Regions from separate parts of the Homo sapiens genome. Here region 2 is linked to region 1. The links are contacts of gene promoters, found by promoter capture Hi-C in human tissues and cell types (Jung and others, 2019). All regions are on one chromosome and are shown on one strand. The core of a region is centred on a gene start or on the middle of the fragment in contact, and the rest is flanking DNA. Distances in the headings are between cores, read along the strand shown.

Region 1 (4,051 bases), core at 645-3,144:
AGCATCTCAGTGATGTTCCAGTAAAACTGGAATTAATAGTCTTGAACCCTTGAAGAAGATAATATTGGTACCAACATCTTCTTGAAGGCCCTTTCCATCATTATATCATCATTATCATAAATACTGATATAAGGCTGACTTTTATTACAATTAAAACGGGATTGAAGGCCAAGGCAGAAAGATCACTTGAGACCAGGAATTTGAGACCAGCTTGGACAACATACTGAGATCCTGTCTCTACAAAAAACAAACAAACAAACAAACAAAGATGGAAGGTTCTGACCCTTTACCTGAGTCAAGGAGGTGGGACCAAGTAGAATTTCTTAGAAGCAAACCATAATAGAAGCTTCTTTGATTTGCTCCTGGCGCTTTCTGTGCTGGAGATCTATGGGTAGAAGCAAAGAATTAAAAAAAAAATCCAAATAGTTTTTCCTACTAAAAAATTGGTGGGAATTCCAGCAGAAGTAGTCAATAGACAGATGCTATCCAGTGAATTGAGAGTCTCAGGTGAACTGGAGACTGGCACATATAGAATCAGAGCCTTAGAGTTGGAAAGATTTCAGAGATGATGCAGTGCAAGCCCCCAGCCATAGACAGAGTCCCTTCAATGTCACACCAGTCCTGCAACTTCTTTTACTTCCACCCTTCTAATTATAGAGAACTGGCTCTTTTACAAGGCTGCCATTTTCATCATTAGAGCCCAGCTGTTATCTGCACTCTTCTTCTTTATTTTAAGGTATTTCCCCGGAATTACTGCACATTAAAATTTTTGACATTTTAGGCTACAGAAATTTTGACTGAATCCTCTTGCTGTACAACAGCCCCCACAACACTTGCTCTCAGGTGTCTCACTTATCTTAAAAGTCCTCTCTTTGTCATACTTCTCTTCAGATGTTTCCAACATGCACCGCCTCTGAAGTTTTTTTGTTCCAGCCATCTCTGTAGGATGAAGAGTAAGTTCTCAGAGTGCCAAGATAGCAAAGTGATGCTTAACACATCATCTGACTAATGAAGAATAATTAGAACATTTATTTTCCATGATCTATTTTTCTATTATTGTAGCTTAATATCATGTTAACTTTTTAAGCAACCATTTCACACTCTTGGTGCCCATTAAAATTTGTAGTCAATTATAATCATTGAATTTTTTTTCTCATGAAGTGTTGCCAAAGTAGATATTTCCCAACCTGCATGTGTGCTAGAGTGTGTGTTAATCTCAGACCTCTCTGTGATCACTGGAAAATCGCTGGCCATAAACCTCACTTTATTAAACTCTAAAATGAGCCTAATAATGTTAGAACCACATGTGAGGTGCTGTAGAAAGTACCATATCTGGTAGATACGTGCTCCTCTTATAAAGAATAGGCTATTTATAACCACTATCTTCTCAAAAGACCGTAGGTGACCAGGCTAATTACCTTTCCAAAAACTAATTTTTAATCCACAGCCTTCCCTTCTCCTTACTCTACTAGAATCCCTGCTTCCAACAATTAAACATCCATCGAATTAATTTTCTTTCCTCTCACACAGGTTGATTGAGCTCTTGACTTTCTTTCTTTCTTTCTTTCTTTCTCTTTCTTTCTTTCCTTCCTTCCTTCCTTCCTTCCTTCCTTCCTTCCTTCCTTCCTTCTTTCTTTCTTTCTTTCTTTCTTTCTTTCTTTCTTTCTTTCCTTCTTTCTTTCTTTTCTTTTCTTTTCTTTTCTTTTTCATTTTGAGCAGCTGGTCAGTTCAAGAAACCCAACCCCTCTCCACCAACCGGAGCCCCGCCCCCTGCCCCCGGCTGGCTGGAGAGTTGAAGGCCAAAGACGGAGAGGAGGGCGCTCGCTGCTCTGCTCCCGGGCCAAAGCGCAGGCTCGGCCTGCCTTATCCAGTGGGACGGCAAAGGGTCACTCTAAAAATTGCTGCAGCCGGGTCTTGTCAGGTGGCTGCTGGTGGCTCCCCACCGGATTTTCCTTCTCCCTCTCTCTATCTCCACAGATCCCTTCCCAAGAGGAGTCTCCTGCTAAAACTTCATCATCTCAAGTTGACCTGCCACTTCACCCAAGGAGGGTAAGGAGCTGGGACCAGAGTCGCCAATTCCTGCCTTCTAGATCCTGGGGTGTGTGTGGATGTGTGGGTGGGAGAGGGTGGGCTGAGTGTTTGTGGTTGTAGAGCTATTTTACTGAAGGGAGTCTACAGCTGGGTCAGGTGGTTCATGTCCCTAATCTGAAGTTGGGAGACAGAAAACATTTTTTTGAAATCTGAGAAATGTAACGTGTTAGGAGAACTTCACGGTAACAAAATGCATGACAATGATGCCCTACAAATGTAAAACCACCTGTAATTTCTAACAAAAATTCTAAATCTCTAAAGCTTAAGATATATTTTTCTTTCACTACTTTATAGAGAAGGAGAAGGAGAGAAAATTCTTAGGCTTTGTTCACAAAGTTTAGAATTCTACCTTTATTTTTATCAAGAATCATTTTAACATTTGTTACTGATCAGTTTGGATGAAATGTTACCAGTTTTAACTAAATCTGTAGCACAAAACTCAGACAACTCTGAATTCCCAGAAATATAACCTATTGATGAAATGGAAATATCCTTCCTAAAAAAAAAAAAAAATTTGTTATTTGGCTAAAAAATAGGTTTTTGTCTTAAATGTGCACATATCATTATGCTGACATATATTTTATATTAAAAATCATGTTGGAAGTGTAATGGTGAAGTGGAAACCACCCCCCTACACCCCACCCCGAGGTTGGACTTAAAATGGCAAGCCACAGAAGCCAGGAGGGTTTCTATTCCTGGAGGTAGGGCTGATGAGCCCCGACAGATGCAGCGATAGGAATGTGGCCAGGACAGGGAGCAGGCGCAGCTGATTCGCCCCTTTGGCAAAAAGACATTCTGGGATCCCAGTTCATACTGGCATGAGAGTGACAGTGACACTTTAGCACACATGGCTTTCCAGTTTACCCTGTTGTGGACTCCCAGGAAGCATGGGTGCAGGGCAGTGGGAAGGAAAATGTTCTCAAATATGAAGTAACAACTCTTTTCTATAACCAGTTCTGGGGGTCTTCATCTGGGATCAGCTGGGGCCAGGAAGAATTTAAGTGCAATACTTTCACATGGACTTGCCCACTTACAGACAAGGGTCCAATTATGTACCATTGCTTGGCAGCATTATTCTCAGTCCAGTCATTTTGGATCTATTTCGGGTTATGGATCTCATGAAAACGCTGAGCCCAGTGTGTGGAAAGTACACATAAACATATGCACACAGTATGTTTCAGACTATTCCGCAGGACTCATGGACTCACCTGATACCCAGCCCTGATCAGGAATGCCAGATACAAGTCAGGTCATCCAGCTACATTTGAATTTCAGGTAAGCTACAAATCAACTTTTAGCATAAGTATGTCCTCAACACTGCCTGGGACATACTTATACTAAAGTATGATTCATAGTTTATCTGAAATGCAAATGCAACTTGACATCTTGTATTTTTATTTGCTAAATCTAGCTGTTCAGACCCAGACATATAGATCCCATGTAAAGAAACCTTGTCTCAGTTCGTTCATCCCTATCTGATAATGAGTAGATTCTAAAGATATGGAAGGCCATATTACAGGGAGATTTAATGTAGGAACAGATTTTGACAATTCTGACAGCAAAAGTCAGCTGTGTATTCATAACTGTCTGCAAAATTATAGAAGCAAAAGTAATGCATCTCCTTGTTTGACAGTTGATTATACTGAAATCCTGATAGGTTGGACGTTCTGCTATAGGTCTATCAAGTGGTTAGAGCAGAATGAACACCGAAACCCAATTTTCAGTTCTATGATAATCAAAAAGGCATCAGTCTTAAAACTCAATTTCTAACCTCCTCTCCCTCCAACACACAAAATACTAGGAAAGAAAAAGAGCCAGTTTACTAAAGTTTTCAACAAAACCCAAACAAAAACTTTGTACTGTGTCCTTGTGTCCTATATACAGCCTTAGAGAATAGAATTGTAGTTAACTTAGTGCATAGAGTCTGTATACTTTATAGATAAAAGTTAGGCACAGCCTC
Region 2 (4,051 bases), core at 500-2,999, 52 kb after region 1:
AAAGTTCCCTTGCAAAGGGAATTTGTCATTGGTGCACACTCCCTTATTTAAGCTTTTGCTGATTCATCGTGCACTCATCAAAGCTGCACTGAGCTAATATTTAGAAATTCATTTGCTATAGAAGCAAACTCCAACATCAAATCCTTAAGTATGTGACTTGATCTATTCATACCTGGGTGTATACTAGTCCTGAGTTTAGGCACATATACCCACCTACACACAGCAGTGCTGAAAAAGCGTGACTGTAAAAAACTGGGGTGATAACTGGACAATGAAGTGAGGTCAATGAAGGGTTATTTTATATAGGAAATAACCCACAGATTGGCCACAAATCTCCTCTGCATTGACATTCATATGTATACATACACATTCTCACATGAAAACTCTTTTAAAAAAACTTTAAATTAGGGAAATTGTTGAAATTTGAACTAAGATGATAGTGAACAAGAAGCCCACAGAATATTAATAATTATCTTAATTTTCTTTCTTATTATTCAAAGTATATGCTCTAAAACTGTACTGAGGTACATCAAGTGCACAAATAGTAGTATGGAGTTGATGTTTTTTTTCCATATACATGTACCTATGTTACCACCATCTAATTCAAGATAGAGGATATCTCTGATCTCTTAGCTGGAGAAGACCGCCTCATGCCACTTTCCAGTAAATATCTCCCCATAGAGTTAATAGTATTCTGACCTCAATCACCGTAATTCATTTTGTCTGTTCTTGAAATGTATATAATTTAAATCATACAGTAAGATACATATATTTAATTTTTAAAAATACATTTAAAATGTACAAAAGCCATGCCTCACTCCTGGCTCTGATCCTCAGCCACCTGTTTTCTCTACCCAAAGGCAACCAATGATACTACCTTTCTTTTTTTTTTTTTAGATGGGGTTTCTCCCTGTTGCCCAGGCTGGAGTGCAGCGGTGCAATCATAGCTCACTGCAGCCTCACACTCCTGGGCTCAAGCCATCCTATTGCCTCAGCCTCCTGAGTAGCAGGGACTGCAGGTACACACTACCACAACCAGCTAATTTTTAACTTTTTTATTTGGACAGAGTCTCACTTTGCTGCCCAGGCTAGGTATCACCTTTTTGTTCATCTCTACAGAAATATTTACTCATATACACAAAAATGCATATGCATATACATAGTTTTCTTCTCTTGAGATCACTTTTGCAAAAATTATAACAATCAGGAAATTATTACAGTGAATGAGATCTGAACTAACCAACCCCCATCTAGCCTTTAACCTCCAAACTGGCCTTAATTATTCCTGGGCTTATGCCAAGATAACTTTGGGAGACATTTAGTTTAGAGTTTAAATGGTAATAGTGCTTCCCCAAAATTATACCACTTTGTAAAGCTAAGGAAAGCTAATCCATCCACCAGGTTATTAGGATGAGAGGAGCCTGAATTCTGCTAAGGTGTAGACTTAAACGATTACCAGCCATTAGTCTGGAGGTCTCAAAAATTGCAACTCCCCTAATTACTCCCGCCGATAACATCACTATTATAGAACCTAAGATTGGCCTTTTGAGATGTCTTTTCAGGTTTCTGCATTTCTGACGACCAATGAACCAACGTCTCCACCCAGGCCTGCCAAACCCCACTAGCCAGTCCTGTGGCCCTACCCAGAAGCAGACTCCCTGGCTCCCCAAACCACCCTTGAAAAACTCTAGCCTCCAAATTTTCAGGGAGATTGATTTGAGTAATAACTCCATCTCCCACGTGGCATGGCTGGCCTCGTGTCAATTAAATTTTATTGCAATGACTTGGCCTTGGTGGATTGATTTTGTCTGTGCAGTGGGCAGGAAGAAACTATTGGGTGGTTACACTCTCACACAAGTTTGGAACACTACTGAAAATTTAAAAAATTAGCTGGGTGGGTGTGGTGGCATGCTCCTGTAGTCCCAGCTACTTGGGAGGCAGAGGCAGGAGGATCCCTTGAGCCCAGCAGGTCGAGGCTACAGTGAGCTATGACTGTGCACTGCAATCTAGCCTGGGCAACAAAGTGAGACCCTGTCTATAAATAAATAAATTTAAATAAATGAGAAAAAAAAGGTAGTGACATACTATAGCATTTAGGAATATGTTTAGCTACAAATAACAGAAACTCAAAAACAGTGGCTTAAACAGTAAGTTTGCCCCACGAAACAAGAAGTCTGGGGCAGTCCAAGGAGGTTCAACAGGCTGCTGTTTCTGTTTTTTTACCTCCACCACCCTTAGAGTGAGGCTTTTGTCTTAATGCTTATTACTTCTTTGTTGCAAGATAGCTGCTGCATCTCCAGGTATTACATCTGTATTCAAGACAGGGAGAAGAAGAAAGCGGGAGTTGGGAAGGGGAGAGACCTGTGTTAGGAAACCAAAAGCTTTCACAGAAACCCTCTATTTCTATCTCATGGGATCATACTCCTGAATCATACGGCCCCTCCAGCTGCACAACACTGTGGTGAAGCAAATATTTTTAGTTTAGCCTTTATTTTTTAGAAAGAAAGGGGATGAGAATTGGCATGAGCAGATATAAGGATAGCCTCAGCCTCACATGATATTATGACTGTATTATTTGTTAAATATTGAGAAAGTTATGGAATACTGAAAAATTTTAGTTTTGGATAAATACCCATTCACATTAATTTTTGCTGTCCTTACTACTACTTTGAGAAAAAAGGTAAACTAAAGAACTTCTAAAATTTCTTCTCATATTGTTATTGTACACAGGTCCATCTTTTTAAATCCACAATTGCAAAATATAAAAACAAAATAAAGAAAACTATGAAAACAGAAAAGTTTATGTAACTGATTTTGTGACAAAAACCTGATGTGACCCAAGGAGAGGCTATTTGAAGTCTTCGTTCATATGATTTAGTGTAAATTGTTTATATGTTGCAGAAATATTCATGTTTGATTAAAGAGTACTGCCCCAGACCCTACTTGGGATATTACATAATAAATAGGATCTTCTAACTTTGAAAAGTTCTGAATTCTCAAACACCTCTAAACCCAATGGTTTAAATAGGGAATTGAAGAACTGTGGTTAGAAAGATGACTTCAATGTAAATATACAATTTGGCAGAAAGTTTAGGGGAATCATATAAACAACTAAATGAATGCAGGCAGAAATGAAAAAAGAAATCCTGAAACTTTAAGAATCGGGGATAATATCAGATAAGTATGTTGCTTAAATTTGACTAATTTAAACCATTTTTATAAATTAGTCACTCAGCATGAAGACATCAAAAATTCTTCCTAAATTCTAAACACTATGTACATTTGAATGCTGAGTTAGTCCCAGGATTCATCCCCAAAATATCACTGACCAGTATGATTTAATATTAGTATTTGCCCTCTCAGGGGCATCCTTGCTGCAGGATATCACAAGGGTAGAAGGTAAAGCAGCTGCACAAAACATCTTTGCTCTTGTTTGTTACTCTGAGATGATCCTCTGCCTGAAAATATCTAAGCAGATACTTTTCTCAGCTTTGCAATGCAAATGATATTTAACAGTTCCCTAGGAATGTTTTGTGTGCTTATCAAATTTCAGCTAAACACATTTATTTATATGATAAATATGATAACCAAAAGGTTCCATGTATTATCTTTTCAATATTCATGTTATACTGTACAAGCACTGTATTATACAAATACTGTATAATATAGTATTGTAAGGTACAAAAATACAATAAACTAACCATACTTCAACTCTGCGGGGTTGCTGTGGGAGAGCTCTGCAGGGTTGCTGTGCAAGCCCCAGGTAAGTGATTAAGTCAGACAATAACTACATCAGTGCTTCTCAAATTTTCATGTGCCTGCAGATTATCGGTTGGGGGCGGGGAGTTTTTAATATGCATTCTGACTTAGTAGGCCTGGTGTCGGGCCAGAGATTCTGCGTCTCTCCCAAGCTTTCAGGTGATACAGATGCTGACTGGTGGACCACATTTTGAGTAGCAAGATGCTAAAGCTTCTTACAACTCTAAACTTTCAAAATCCTTTATAAAAGGATAGCTATAATGTATATGTGAAATGGACTATGGAAACATAA

The links. The method cuts DNA at HindIII sites, captures the fragments that hold promoters and counts their contacts. A contact is called where the count stands out against the background at its distance.
Region 2: a contact is called between a fragment that was not itself captured here and the fragment with the promoter of KLHL31 in region 1, in 1 of the 25 tissues and cell types used here (hippocampus).

Annotation. Positions count from the first base shown.
Region 1 is chr6:53,663,599-53,667,649 of GRCh38, reverse strand. KLHL31 (kelch like family member 31) reads left to right here and starts at 1,894. Exons shown (of 3, transcript NM_001003760.5): 1 at 1,894-2,049. The HindIII fragment of the contact is 4,897 bases long and covers 1-3,847 here.
Region 2 is chr6:53,611,805-53,615,855 of GRCh38, reverse strand. No RefSeq gene overlaps it. Among named protein-coding and RNA genes, the nearest start is that of LINC01564, 15 kb to the left of the region's middle. RefSeq lists an enhancer at 1-445. The HindIII fragment of the contact is 4,534 bases long and covers 1-4,016 here.